Regions from separate parts of the Homo sapiens genome. Here region 1 is linked to region 2. The links are contacts of gene promoters, found by promoter capture Hi-C in blood cells and fetal thymus (Javierre and others, 2016). All regions are on one chromosome and are shown on one strand. Each heading gives the region's core, a stretch centred on a gene start or on the middle of the fragment in contact. The rest is flanking DNA. Distances are from core to core; before and after follow the strand shown.

Evidence for each region. The method cuts DNA at HindIII sites, captures the fragments that hold promoters and counts their contacts. A CHiCAGO score of 5 or more calls a contact.
Region 1: a fragment that was not itself captured here is called in contact with the fragment with the promoter of GLI3 in region 2 in 1 of 17 cell types (endothelial precursors); the score reaches 8.4 in endothelial precursors.

Annotation. Positions count from the first base shown.
Region 1 is chr7:41,974,896-41,977,595 of GRCh38, reverse strand. GLI3 (GLI family zinc finger 3) reads left to right here. Exons shown (of 15, transcript NM_000168.6): 12 at 1-38. Among named protein-coding and RNA genes, the nearest start is that of GLI3, 260 kb to the left of the region's middle. The HindIII fragment of the contact is 1,214 bases long and covers 644-1,857 here.
Region 2 is chr7:42,235,939-42,238,875 of GRCh38, reverse strand. GLI3 (GLI family zinc finger 3) reads left to right here and starts at 1,667. Exons shown (of 15, transcript NM_000168.6): 1 at 1,667-1,905. RefSeq lists an enhancer at 942-1,923. The HindIII fragment of the contact is 5,518 bases long and covers 1-2,937 here.

The sequences.
Region 1 (2,700 bases), core at 1-2,500, 260 kb after region 2:
ATCGCGCCAAACACCAAAACAGAACGCATTCCAATGAGGTAAGCATCCTCAGTGGGCATGGAGCTTGCATAAGGAAACAAAGAACTATCCCGGGGAAGGCACATGGGAAGGCGCAGTGTGTTCTGTTTTGTTTTCCCCTTGGCCATTCCCAGCATGAGGGGCTCTGCCCCTGCAGGTGAAGGCTTGAGCTTCCTAGGTGGGACTGGAAACTGGATCTTATTTGGAGAATAATAAGAGATGAGGAGGAAACTTCTTAAAACCCCTGCGAACTTACTAGTTTCATGTTGTTTTGAACTGCCACCTACTGGTCAAACAGTGGGAGCATTTGACTTGGAATCTGAGCCAGTCACGCTGCCCAAAATAGCAGGAATCCATGCAAAGGATGACCCCATAAGCCCCAAGGATATATTAAGAAGTAGCATGTTGACAGCTGACAGCTTCCTGCTAAGTCATCCACTTTTATTTGCTTCCTCCAAGTGGTATCTTCAAATGGTATTATATCAAAAAAGATTTTTACAGAGCAACCAGCCTTGGCTAAATGCAATTTTCAGACATTCTAAATTCCAAAGGATCTTGGAAAATGGTCTCAGAAACCCAGAATACTTTCTAGGCAGTTACTTAAGAAAACATATTGAGTAAAGCTTCAGGGTGATTCCTGTTGTGTTACTGTTATTTTTAGGTAGCGATCCCCCCTAAATTGTAGAGAGGCATAAGAATAAAAATTATTCCAAATTCATTGCTTACATTTTAGTGAACATCTTCCTACAGACTTCCAATTTGGCCTTGGAGGTCTAGCTCAAATTCTGGCTTGTCTGTGAAATCTTCTCTTGAATGTATTGAGAGATTAACAAAAGGACTCCCCACATTTTGAGTGGAAATAGGATAGCTAACCAGAATTTGTTAACATGAGACATAGTTCAGCACCACAGCGTGTCATCAGTTTGCTTGAAATGTGTTAGAGAAGGAACATCGTGCACACATGAGACCCTGGAGTGGCTGTCATTTCATCTCACCAGTGCAGGTCAAACACATTCATGATCTTTCAGACAGAGAGCTGGGCAGAGAGAATCTTGATAGAAACAAAGTGAGCCATTCTGCTCAGTGGACTTTTGGCTTTAAGGTGGCAAAGATGGTTCTCACCATGTTTTCTTCAGCTGAAACTGACAGAGCAAAAACATCTCTAAAGGGATTAACTGCACTCTGTAAAAAGCACACTCACTCATAAACTCACACATGTAAGTTCATATATATACCAACTTTCTGTGTGAAAAGGTCATGGAAACTGGAGTTATTCGGAATCTCATTTTCTAACTGTTTGAAGACATTTTAAAGATGCCACATCTCCATTTTTAATGTAAAAATGCTTTTACAGTATGCAGTAGCTGGAATATAATCTATTACACTTGTTTTGTACAAAATTTTAGGGAGTCTAGAATAGATAGATACATAGAGATAGAAAGTAGATCAGTGGTTGCCAAAAGCAGAGGGGAGAGGGAATAGTGATGACTGCTAATGGATACAAGGTTTTTTTGTTGGGGTGGTGAAGATATTCTGGAATTAGGTAATGGTGATGATTACACAATGTCTAGAATGTACTAATGCCACTGAATTGTGCAATTTAAAGGGATTATTTTTATGGCATGTGAATTATATTTCAATTTAAAATTTTAAGGGGTTTTGACTTAACAGAATGTATTTCATATATTTCATAGATTTAAGTGTAATTTTGACTAGAAATTTAGGGGGCATTCATTCCTATAGATGTTAGGCCAATGCTGTCTCCTATTATCATGGAGAAGTTTGGACAGAGGGTATGTTAGGATCAGAATGCACACATATAAAGACAATTACCAAGCTTTTTTGTCTTTTTATGGACCTAAAATATTTGTACATGTCTGTTTGCTTTAATTGTGGTGTAGTTGAGCTTGTGTTCTTCTCCAAGGTAAAAAGTGCAATGTTGTGTGAGAGTTGAGTGTTTGTTATAAGATTAAAAGATAAGGATATCTTGGGTAGTAATGTCATTGACCACACTTGAGCAATTTACTTAAATTACTAACTTTTATCATAAATACATAATTAAAATTCTACCCACAGACATATTTACAAACAAATTATACTTCTCTCTTCTATATGCAAGACTTTGGCCCTGTGTGTGACTGATGGACATTTTCAGACGCATCAAAACTAAGTTTGTCCAGGAAATCCAGATTTGTGCAATTTCACAATCCTAGATGAATCAAGTGATTTGCCTTCATTTATTTCCTCTCTTATTTGCAACTTCATTTATTCATTGAACAAATACTTAAAGCTATTTATGTGCCAAGCCCTTTGCTGTTCTAAGTGTGGCCAAGAAAATAATGGACTGTAATGGGAAGGGAGTAATTGCTGGCACTTCTCTGTTCCTCTGGCTGTCCTGCTCATTTAGGGCTGCTAGACTGACCGTAGCTCTGACAGGACTTCTTACTCCAGATCAGACAGCTCATTTTTCCCCCAAAGATACCGCTAAACAAGTTTCCTGAGCTCTGATTCGGTTGAACCTCCCTCTCTAGAAAGCTGCAATGGCTCCCTCTTTCCTATAGGGAGACTTGAGACTCCCTAAGGTTGTGTAAGTGTCAGTTCTCACAGGGCCCAAGCTCATCCCTCTAGTCCTGACCTCTCACTATCATGACCATGAATGAAACCTTCCAGAAGCTGGTGCTG
Region 2 (2,937 bases), core at 418-2,917:
GCAACCCGGAGCTCCGGGGCACTTCTGGCTGGGTGGACCCGGCTTAACCAGAAAGAGGGGATGTTGGAATGTCACAGGGGCTTTCTTTTCTTTCTTTTTCTTCCTGTGTTTCCCCCCGAGAACTCCTTTTTTAAGTTACATGTCCAGGTTGGATATATTAAAATGACGCAGATGAACAAGGACTGGATGGTCGAGGAAGGAGGCCAAATAACTTTTACTAGCATGGGCCTCTGAAAATGAAGCAGGGACAGAGACACTTTGTAGCTCAAGGAAAAGCGGCACGTTAGAGACCAGGCTCCAAGCCTGGGGTCTTTGTTTTTGTGTCTTTTATAAAGTGGCCCATAGGGACAGCAGGCTGTGTGGTGGGAGCTCCTCCTCGCTTCGCGGATTTGGCCCCGAGGGCAGACGAGTCCGGTGGAGAGAAAAACCCTGAACTTCCAAAGGCATCATCCCGCGAGAGGGAGTTTCGGGGATGGCTTTGGGAAAATGTAAAACAAGGAGATGGGGAGCCAAGGATGGGGGGCGGTGGTAATCAGAGAAGCCTTAAAAGAATAAAGGGGAGTCCAGCCCTTGAGCAAGAGTGAGAAAGAGAGGCTGGGTGGGAGAAGATGGGAGCAGACAGGACGCAGCACGAGTGCCAGGGCGCGCATTTGGGGGGTGTCCTGGCGGTGTGGAGAGAGAAGAGAGAGGGCGCGGGTGACATCACGCCCGGGCCCCCTTCCCCTCGCCGGGTGGGTGGGGCTTCGGCGCGCCGGGAGGGCGCGGGGTCAAGTAGGGGGAAGAGGAGGAGCAGGCATGAATGTGTCTGTGTGAAGACCGGGGAGGGGCGGAGGAGGAGGAGGAGGAGGAGAAGGAGGAGGAGGAGGAGGAGGCGGCGGCGGCGGCGGCGGCGGCGGCGGAGGGCGGGGAGGGAGCGCGCGCGTGGCTCGCGGCGCCCGGGCTCCCCCCCAGCCCCCGACCCCGGCCCGCGACGCGCCGCCTCCCAGCCGCCGCCGCCCGCCTCGCAGCTGGGACCCACTCCGGGCTTGGGGACCCGGCGGGCGGGAGAAGCGGGGGCTCCCGGCGCGGCCTGGAAGGAGCGAGAAAGCAAAAGTAAGGCGAGCAGCACTCCAAGTTTTCCCAACTTCGCCCCCTGCGGCGGCAGGCGTCCTGCTGCTCAGCGCGTCCCCTCCGAGCCCGAGAGTGGCTGAAAGAAAAGGGACTGGGCGGGGGCCGGGGCGGAGGAAGAGAGAGTGCGAGGGAGCGAGGAGAGTCCGGCAACATCTGTTAAAACTTGGGGGAGGAGGAGCGCGGGGAGGAGGAGGAAGAGGAGGAGAGAAGGGAAGGAGGGAGCGCGCGGGAGGGGAGCGCGGAGCCGAGGGACAACTTTTCCACCCCGTGAGTAGTGCAGGCGGTGCCAGGTCGGGGCGGGGGGCTTCTCCACCCAGCACGGGGCACCAGGCCGGGATGGGACCTTTTTCCAGAAAGTCGATTGGATGCCAGGAGAGGCGTACGGCTGGGGGTTTCTTTCTTTCTCTTTCCCCTCCCTCCCGCGGTTGAACCAAATCAGAACTGTCACTCAGGGCTTGTGAGTCAGAAGGGATCGGATTACACGATCCCCGAAACTGATGCCGGAGCTGCACGAGCGGGAGGGAGCGGGCAGGGGCAGCGCCACCGGCGCGCTCGCACACTCGCACTCGCGCACACCCGCCGCTCCCACTCACCCGCGCCGCTCTCCCGCCTTCCCCGCGCGCCCCGCGGCCGCCCGCGCCGCACCATGCCCGCGGCGGGCGCACCCCGCGCCCAGCCCGGCCGCTCGCGGTAGCCGTAGCCGCCCGCGGCCGCGCGGAGCGGGGAGCCGCCAGCCTGCGCCCCGTCCGCGGGTCTATGGGAAGTTCGGGGACTTGACAGCCGCTGCCGCCGCAGGTACGTCCCGCTCGAAGTTCTTTGTTTCGCGGACCCCGCAGCCCGCTCCTGCGGCCGCGCCCGCGCCTCCGGGGCCAGAGGTGGTCCCCAGCGTGGGGACGGGATGGAGTGAAAATGGCTGTCAAAAGGCGCCCAGATTTAGAGAGCCGCCGGTGAGGCGTCCGAGCAAGGCTTGCATTCGCTCCCTCCTCCTGGAAGGTCCTTTCCGAAGAGTCCGACCCGCGGACCGGCCGGAGACGGATTGGAGAATTTCACCTCCCGGAGGGGGGACGAAGTTTGCCGCAGTGGTGGCGGCGCCCCTCGCCTCCGCCCCCATCCAAAGGGTTCAGAAGAACTCCGCGAGCCCCGCACGCGCCTGGCTCCTTCCTTTGCGCGGTGGCGCTCTACGGCTCGGGCTTCGGGCGCGCACGGCGCTCGGGATGGGCGGAAGGAGGCGGGAGGCATGGTGGGTGCGCGCGGGGACCTCCGCCGCGGGGGCCGCCGCCGCTGGGGCTTCTCCAGCCCGGGCTATGCTTCGGAGGGCGGGGGTGTGGTGTGAGCGGATGGAGAGAGGCGCGCCTTCGTCGTCATAGAGGAAAAGTGAAAGTTGTACCATCTGTATATGATTTGGGATTCTCTTATTTCTTTTCCTTTCCAGGGGCAGCGCGCACAGACACACAAAGTAACCGTGGTCCATGCAATAATCATTTAAGGTGCCGCGTTTACACAGAGCAGCAGGGGACAGTTACTTTCTTGAGTAGCAGCGGGAAAACGGGCGGGAGAAGGCAGAGAGGGTGTAAATATTGATCCCAAACTTGCAGAGTTTGTGAAGCGACTTTTAAGCAGATTGTCCGAAGCGGACGCTCCACCCCGCACCCGGCCTTTTATCCTTTCCTGAACTTTGTGCTCCTGTCCCCCATTGCACCTCCTTCTGTAAGATGCCGTCCCCCGAGAGGCGCTGCACCCCAGGCTTCCCTGCCTGACCCCGCGTGGAAAGAGGATTAAGGAGGCTCCCTCCGCCGCTGGTCATCCTGCCCCAACTTCTCATCTCCC